Regions from separate parts of the Homo sapiens genome. Here region 2 is linked to region 1. Evidence: promoter capture Hi-C in 16 types of primary human blood cells and fetal thymus (Javierre and others, 2016). All regions are on one chromosome and are shown on one strand. The core of a region is centred on a gene start or on the middle of the fragment in contact, and the rest is flanking DNA. Distances in the headings are between cores, read along the strand shown.

The links. Contacts are between HindIII fragments. The CHiCAGO score rates a contact against its expected background, and 5 or more counts as called.
Region 2: the fragment with the promoter of LYPD4 here is called in contact with the fragment with the promoter of ERFL in region 1 in 12 of 17 cell types (non-activated CD4 T cells, total CD4 T cells, activated CD4 T cells and 9 more); the score reaches 12.1 in non-activated CD4 T cells.

Annotation. Positions count from the first base shown.
Region 1 is chr19:41,925,924-41,930,279 of GRCh38, reverse strand. ERFL (ETS repressor factor like) reads left to right here and starts at 1,831. Exons shown (of 6, transcript NM_001365103.2): 1 at 1,831-2,240. It also overlaps a transcript of ARHGEF1 not described here. RefSeq lists an enhancer at 934-1,434 and a silencer at 1,706-1,885. The HindIII fragment of the contact is 35,384 bases long and covers 1-4,356 here.
Region 2 is chr19:41,842,119-41,846,474 of GRCh38, reverse strand. LYPD4 (LY6/PLAUR domain containing 4) reads left to right here and starts at 1,792. Exons shown (of 5, transcript NM_173506.7): 1 at 1,792-2,897. DMRTC2 (DMRT like family C2) reads right to left here and starts at 1,433. Exons shown (of 9, transcript NM_001040283.3): 1 at 1,374-1,433. The HindIII fragment of the contact is 15,469 bases long and covers 1-4,356 here.

The sequences.
Region 1 (4,356 bases), core at 582-3,081:
GGCTGTTATGGACACCCAGAGAACCATGGCTCTGGGGGAAAGGGTCGTAAATGGAGCCCAGTGAAGCCTGTTGGCTCCTTGAAAGAATGTTCCCTTTCAGACAAGTGAAGGTACAGACAAGTGAAGGAATTCTTGTTATCTGGCAAAATTCTTAATATTTTTAATGAGATTATTCGGAAGCAGCAAGCTCACAGCAAATGCGTGTTTACTTGGTACTTGGTGCAGTACCAGCTGTGCTCCATGCGCCCTGCGGTTTAACCTTCCCAACCACTCTAGGAGGGAGGTCATTATTGTCCCATTTTGCAGATGAGGAAACTTGAGGCTCGGGGATGTTTAGCGACTTGCCTGAGTGAGTGGTGAGCGGGAGTGAGGCTGAACCTTCTCTGTCAGGCAGGGCTGAAGTTCTCTTCTAGCCTCTCAGCACCTCGGTCTCAGCACCTGGGCGCTGGTGGGGTTGGTGAGATCCGACAGAGCTGTCCTGGCCCCTGAATATCCACCTGGGGACTGCTGTCTTGCCGTGAGACCTATTTTCCCCTCTAGGGGTAGAAGCCTCCAGGGGCTGCCCAGGTGAGAGCTGCCTTTCCCCAGAGAAGGTGGTGTGGGACTTGGCGGGGCGGAGCCTGACCTGGGAATGGGAGAGAAAAGTCGGGGGTGGTGGGTTGGGGAGTGGAAGCGGGAGAGAGGGCAGGGTGAGGGGCAAGGGGCGAGGGGCAAGGGGCAAGGGAGGGAATAGGAGGGTAGACAGTGAGGGTGAGGGTCAGGTTGGGCCAGGAGGTCCGGCCGGCCGGGAGCTGAACTGTGGGTCTGACCCGCCCTGAGGCTGGTCGATATTGACTTGTTATTTCAATGGGAGCAGATCTGGCTGGGCAGGGCCCTTTCCTGTCACTGTAGGTGTGCGTGTGTGTGCCTGTGACCTTGTGGGAGTGTGAAGGGGAGTGTCAGTGTGCCAGCCCTGGGTTCTGCCTATGTGTTAGTGAGGGCTTGTGTGTCCAGGCTGTGTGTTGGGAGTGGAGTGTGGCTGTGTGTGCATCTGGTTGTCTTTGTGTCCAGTTTGTGGGTCAGTGGATCAGGGAGTGGCTGTGGGTTGGGGAAGGTGTGGTGTGCAGGCTGTGTTTGTGCATATGTTTCTCTGTGTGTGCCTGAATGTCTCCGTGTACCGGTTGTGTTTCCACTTCCTGTATTACGGTCCGCATGTGTGTGCTGCGTGTATAGATGGCAGGTCTGTGTGTGTGTGTCTGTGTCTGTCTCTCTGTAGGGTTGTGTGTCCCTGAGTGTGTGTTTGCACTGTCTTACTGTATCCATATGTCCCTCTGTCCGTGTATCTCCTATCCAGGCTGCGTGTGTGCGGGTCCGTGTTCCAGTCCCGGTCCAGGCTTGCGTGTCCAGCAGGGGTCCTGGACGCATCGTCGCCACCTCCACCTCGCGCCTGTCCGTTTGTCCGCGCGTCCACTTAGGGAGGAGCGGGGCGGAGGAGAAGGGAAGGGGAGAGGAGGGGGGTCTCTCCACCTCTCCACCCACCCCCGCCCCACCCCCACTCCCTCAGTCCCGGGATCGAACCTTATTTAGAGTCGCGATTCGACATCTGTTTTCAAATTTGATCAGCTCTGAACTTTATTTTCCGAGTTTGAGGAAAATTATATTCCATCGATCGCGCCCCCGCCCCCTCCCCCGCGCCGCCGCCGCCGCCTCCATATATCTGCGAGCCGAGCCCGGCCGGGCGGCCGCGAGGGCGGGAGGCGCGCGGCGCGCAGAGGAGTGGAGGGAGGAGGAGGAGAACGAGGAGGAGGAGGAGCAGGAGGAAGAGGAGGAAGAGGAGAAGGCGCAGGAGGCAGGGCCGCCCCGCGCCCCCAGCCGGCCAGGCTGTCCCCGGCGCGCGCCCGCCCGCGCTCGCTGTGCTGAGCTCCAGCCCGGAGCTCCGTCCTCAGCTCTCCCCGTCTCTGCTCTCTTTGCGCGTCTATCTCGCTGTCTCTCTCCCTCTCTGCATCTCCCCGTCTCTGCTCGTCTCCCCGTCTCTGTCTCCTTGGCTGTCTCTCCGTCTCTGAGTCTCTCCTGTCCCGGCGTCTCAGAGACTCCCTCTCCTCGTCCTCTGGGTCTCTGCCTCCCCGGGGCTCCGGGCATCTCCCCCCACCCCGCCCCTCGCCCCGGTGCCCCCTCCCCAGGACGCCGCGGGGGCCATGGCTGCGGGATCCGAACTTTAAACACTTCTCCCCGGACCGGAGCGGATGCGAAAAGCCCAGAAAGTGAGTGAGCGCCGCGGCCGGCGCAGGGGCGGGGAGGGGGCGGGGATTCCCGCCCCAGGAGGGGGCGGGCGCGGGGGTGGTCCCGGGAGGCCTGAGAAGCTGGGCCTCCGAGCCGGTGGAGGGGTAGGCGGATGGGGTCATCCGCCCCGGCTGTAAGGGGCAGGTGGGGCAGCGCCCAACTCTGGGAAGGTGGGAGGCGGGTAGCGCTAGAGGTGCGGCCTCGGGACAGGGGTGCGAGATTTGGGGGCGGGGAGGGAGAGCGAGTGAGAGCCACGGAGATGGGGTCTGCAAGAGACTGGACTGAAAATCTGGGAACGGGGGTTGGTGGCCGACCTGAAGGTGGATTTGGATGTTTGGGGCTGAGGAGTCTGGATATTTGGGGCTAGATTCTGAGTGGGGTTTAGAGGTCAGGGCTGAGGGCTTGCATATTTGGGACCTAGGGGCTCAAAGCCAAGAGACTGGACACTTGGGGCGGAAGATCTAGATATCTGAGGTTGGGAGCTGACTGGGGCTGGGAGTCAGGACTGGGGGTGTGGATATCTGGGACTGGGGATCAGCATAGGAGTTTGGACTTGAGGGGGCCAGAAGTCTGGATTTGGAGTTGGAGTTCAAAGCTAAGGGTCTGCGAATTTGGATCTGGATATCTGGGGTCTGGATATTTGGTATGAGGGGTCACAGGGTCTGTGGGAAGGACATTTGGGCCAATTCTGGGGTCTGCACACTTCGGGGCAAGGAGTACAGGCCTGGCCCTGACCTTCGTGGGGCCGGGGCCCTCTGGGACACCCTTTCTATCATTCCACCACTGTCGCAGGGCCCTGCTGGGCCACTTCTGTTATCTCTCCCCTGGCTGGGTCTCTCCTCACTGTCTCTCTGTCTCTGTCTCTCACAGCATCTCTGTGTCCACCTCTAACTCTCCCAGGATCTGTCTCTCTATCTCTGTCTCTCACAGCATCTCTCTCTTCCTTTTTGGGTCCAACTCTTAAGACTATCTCTCTCTAAATCTCTGTGCTTATCTCTCCCTGTGTCTCTTCCTTTCTCGGCATCTATCTCTCTCTCTTCCTTTCTCGGCATCTCTTTCTATCTCTCTCTCTCTGCCTCTTTCTGTCTCTTACTGTCTCTCTGTCTCTGTCTCTCCCAGCATCTCTGTCTCTGTCTCCCCCTCGCTGGTTTCCGCTCAGATTAAGCCGGGGACCTAATTCCAGGCCCAGGATCGAATTTTCTGGCAACAAAGGGAAATAGCGAATCGATCGGTCGCTCTGGAGATTAAGAGACAAGCGGCGCGCGGATCTATCACGGCTAAACGGCCCCCCCGCCCGCTCCCCCCTCCCGGCCGGCCGCCGCGGCCCAGACGCGCTCCGCATCGCCAAGCAGCCTCAGGGGCCCTGGCTGCCCGGCAGGCCAGCAGGCCAGGCCTCGCCTAGCCCAGAGCTAACTCTGTGCCCCACCCAGGGCCAGAGCCACGGGAGGGACCCGAGAGCCAGAACTGGCTCCCCAGGGAGGGGAGGACAGGGGAGCGAGAGAAATCGAGGTGGCAGACCATCTGGCAGAGTCACACTGCACCCACCTGTGGCCTCAGGTAACTAACCTTTCACACCTGTCTATCAATGCACCTGTCACATCCATGTTCCCCCTTCAACTCCCCAAATCTGGACTTCCAGGTAACATCTATCTCCTCATACCTGCCTGCACGCAACACCTGTCCTCCATACCTGTTCCCTTCATCTGCCCTGGAGGTAACACCTATTTCCTCTCACCTGCCCCTCCAGGTAACACTTGTCCCCCTCACACCTGCCCTTAAGATGTCTGGTCTCTCGGGGAGCATACGTCCCCTCTTACCTGCCCCTCCAGGTAATACCTGTTCTCTAAAATCTGCCCCTTCCACTGGAATCCCTGCATTTTATCTCATTTCATGTCACACTGGCCCCTTCCTACCTGTACGTGAGCCATCCCACCTGTCCCCTAAAGCTGCAAACTCACCTGTTCCTCACACATTCGTATTTCTTCACCTCTTCCTCCTCTCAAGCAGTACCGAGTCACCACACATGCACACACTCACACACACATTCCTTCTGTTGCACACAAGCACTCACACATGCAACCTGCTAACCTGTCCCCT
Region 2 (4,356 bases), core at 543-3,042, 84 kb after region 1:
TGGCCTCCCACAGTGCTAGGATCAGAGGCATGAGCTGCTGCGCCCGACATTCTGTATTCTTTCAATTCAAACATTCTTTTCTTTCAATCCAAACACTTTCCCACCCACACACACATCCTAGGTTCCAACCTACTCATGTCCTCACATACCCCTTCAGCGAGTCCTACATCCCCTTTTCACAAGCACCCTGTTCCGTCCCAACAGTGTTTCCTGGCATCCTCTTCAACAATGCTCACCCCACTCTCATGCATTCATCCAATGCCTACCAGTAGTTTTATGCCCCTTTCAATTCTTAGTTCAATTTCAATTCTTAGTCTCATCTATGCCCTGCAAAGCAACTGCCTCCTTGCATTCCTTTAGTCTTATTTTGTTCTTGTACCCCTTTAAATCAGAACCCTCTCTTGCACCCCCAATAATTACCTTATTCTCATGGATTCCCTGCTCCACTTTCTTTTTTTTTTTATTGACAGGGTCTCGCTCTGTTGCCCAGGCTGGAGCGCAGTGGCGTGATCATGGCTCACTGCAGCCTCCACCTCCTGAGCTCAAGCAATCCTCCTGCCGCAGCCTCCCCAGTAGCTGGGACTACAGGCTGGAGCCACTATGCTTGGCTCCCCTGTCCCACTTTCTTTCTTTCTTTTTTTTTGTTTTGAGATGGAGTCTCACTCTGTAGCCCAGGCTGTAGTGCAGTAGTGCAATCCCGGCTCACTGCAACCTCCGCCTCCTGGGTTCAAGCAATTCTCCTGCCTCAGCCTCCCGAGTACCTGGGATTACAGGCCTGTGCCACCACGCCCGTCTAATTTTTGTATTTTTAGTAGAGATGGGGTTTCACCATGTTGGCCAGGCTGGTCTTGAACTCCTGACCTGCCTCAAGCGACCTGCCTGCTTCGGCCTCCCAAAGTGTTGGGATTACAGGCATGAGCCACCGCACCCGCCACCTGCCCCACTTTCAAGTTATTTTCCTTCACTCCTTCATTCATTCCACAAATGGTTACTGAGCCCCTGTCATGTGCTAGGCCCTGATCTGGGCCAAAAACCTTCTCCTTGGGGCACTAATGTCTCTCTTGCGCTCACACCTTATTCAGGTTTTTGTGTAAACATGTGAAGTCACTGTGTCCAGCGCTTCCTGCTCCTGTGGCCACTACCAACAATTAATTTCATGCATGTCCCCCTCCCCCCTTCCCGTGCCCCAGGGAGCGAGTGGGGAACCGGGAACGCGCCAAGGGGCCCGCGAGGCAGGGAAGGGGAGAGGGGGCGCGAGGGCGGGAGGGGCGCGAGGGGGAGGAGAGGGGATGCCTGGGTTAGGGAGTCCGGCTAAGAGGGAGGAGGACGGAAAGGCAGGAGGGACCGTGTTCGTGCAGCTAGTTCACGGTTACCACAGCCTCCAATGGAGTCAGATTCAGTCAAGAAGACGCCCAAAGACACTGTGAGAAAGTGGCCAGAGGAACCGCCAAGCTCGCGCTGCTTTTCTTACCCTGTCTCACAAAGACCAATGAACTTCAAGCATCGCCTCTCTCAGCCGAGGCAGACGACCAATGCGGTTTGAGATCCTGAACTGATGTCCCGCCCCTTCCCTTCTGCCAGCTTCTTGGCGCACAAGACTATCAGTCCCACCAATAGCGCTTCGAGTTGAGCCTCGCGCCACCGCTGCCTCTCCCTCCGCACGTCCTGCCCGCCCAGACTGTCTTCCCCCTTTCGAGGCAGGTGGCCAATGGGGCGTCGAGTACCCCTTATTGGACCGAGGCTGGCCCCGCCCCCCAGGAACGGCCCGCCTGGCCCCGCCCCTGGGGCGTTGACCAAGCCCGGTCTGTGCACGGGTTGCCTCGTTTCTGGCCTTCCCTTGCCTTGTACCTCGACTTCGCGCGTGGCTTGTTTTTGCTGAGTGGAGGCCTGCGTTTTCTGTTATGTCTCTTCCGGTGCCCCACAACTCCTGAGCTACCCTTCTTTTATGCGTTCTCTCCCAGCGCTGTGATTACCGGGTTGCTTACCGGGCCCTCCTTCCTCAGATTGCACCCCTTTCCTTGTGTCTCTTCTTGTCTTTGTGTCGGTTGTGATTTTCCTAATCTCTGATTTTCCTTTTCTCTCGGACGCTCTCCCTCTTCGGACCCATTTTCTCCCGTGCTTCATGCCCTGATAGCCTGGCCCCTTCCCGGCTTCCTTCGCTACCGGGGACGCCTCTAGTTTTTCTGAATTTCTGGCTGGCTCCACCCTCCGCGTTCATCTTCCTCAAGAGTTCGCCCCTCTGGGGGCTCCTCTGTGTAATCGTCGCCTTCTCTGGGTATTTCTGTGAACTCCGTCTCACACCATCCCGCCATCTTCTCTGCCTTGGCCCCTTTTCTCTGTACAGCCAGCTCTGTGTCCTTTTCTTCTCCCCCTCTAAAATCGACTCCTCTTCTCCCTGAGAGCCCCACCTTTGTGCCCCACTCCTCATTTTCCTACGCCTCCCTCTCTCTGCTGGTCCTCTCTCTCCCTGCAAGGTTCCATTCCATCAATTTGTTTGTCTTTTGTAGGGGTGGCATCCCCTCTGACTACTGCTCCATCCTTTTTTTTTTTTTTTTTTTTTTTTTTTTTGCTTGAGGATTTCACTTCAATCTTTTCTGGTTGCGTCTCCACTTGTACTCAGCTTGTTAGGTCCAGGTCCAGTTGTTCTGCATCTGAGGCTGGCGTGTGCTGTCTTCTCTGATTGGCCTAATCTCCCTCACCCCCGTGAGATCTGTTGTCAGCCTTCGTTTCTCTTTCCTGTGTCCCAGCTTTTCTGCGGGTCTTGGCACCTTTCTTGGCCACAGATTTCTGGGTTACAGAGCATGTGTGTCTGAGGCATTGCAGGCAGAAAAGGGTGGCCGACGTGACCTCTAGCTGGACTGCTGGGCAGGGGAGCTGTCCTAGATAAAATTGGAAAGGTTGGGTGGCGCTTATCTGGGGTGGGGTGGGGTGTGGTCGGGGGAGGCTTAAAGGCCAGCTAAAGAGGTTGAACTTGATCCTTTAGGTAGTGGAGAGAGAGTGAGAGGAAGTGTGTGTGGGAGGGAGGGATAGTGGTAGAGGAACAGGGTAACCAACGATTATAAAGAGCTTAGCATTTGCCTAATACTTATGGTAATAATTTTATTGATCTTCACAATGACCCTATGAGATGTATTATACTTCATTTTATAAAGAAGGTAGTAGGCTCTGAGTTCAACAAATTGGACAGCTAGTAAATGAAGGGGTAAAGATTCCAACCTGGGTCTCTGAGGCCAAGGTCAGTGATCTTTGTACCCCCTCCTACACTGTTATTTTCCACCAATTCCCCACTTTCATTCCCTAACCTTCTTATAGGCAATTCTCATTCTAAGGTGGTTAATATGTATCTTTTGGTTTGTGTGTGTGTTCTCCCAGGATGTGTGTAGTGTTGTTGTTGGGGTTTTTTTTTTTTTTTTTTTTTTTTTTTTTTTTTTTTTTTTTTTTTAGCGATGGGGTTTTGCCATATTAACCAGGCTGGTCCAGAACTCCTGGCCTGAAGTGATCTGTCTGCCTTGGCCTCCCAAAGTGCTGGGATCACAGGCATGAACGACCACACCCGACCTCTGTTTGAGTTTTTAATTTATGCAAGTGATATTATGTTATATACTATTTGTAATAATCAGCACTGTGATTTTACAATCTATCCATGTACACATTCTGTCATTCTGTCATGATGTGTACTTTTTTTTTTTTTTTTTTTTTTTTTTTTTTTTGTTTAGACGGAGTTTCACTCTTATTGCCCAGGCTGGAGTGCAATGGTGTGATCTTGGCTTACTGCACCCTCCACCTCCTGGGTTCAAGCAATTCTTCTGCTGCCACAGCCTCTTGAGTAGCTGGGATTACAGGCTCCCACCACCACACTCGACTAATTTTTGTATTTTTAGTAGAGTCAGGATTTTGCCATGTTGACCAGCTTGGTCTTGAACTCCTGACCTCAGGTGATCCGCCCACCTCAGCCTCCCGAAGTGCTGGGATTACAGGCGTGAGCCACTGTACCCTGCCTCACATCCTGTGTACATCTAATCAACTTCTTCCAACTCCTGCGTGATATTCCATAGCGTACATCCCCAGCATGTTTTGCATTCACTTGGTCTCAGAGAGGGAAGCTCCCATTGTCTCAACCTACCATCACCACAATAATGCTGCATTCTCTGGGCATGGGAGCTCATGCCTGTAATCCCAGCACTTTGGGAGGCCGAGGTGGGTGGATTGCTTGAGCCCAGGAGTTTGATAACAGCTGGGGCAACATGGAAAAACTCCATCTCTACAAAGCTGGGTGTGTTGGCGCACACCTGTAGTCCCAGCTATTTGGGTGGCCGAGGTGAGAGGATTGCATGAGCCTGGCAGGTGGGGGCTGCA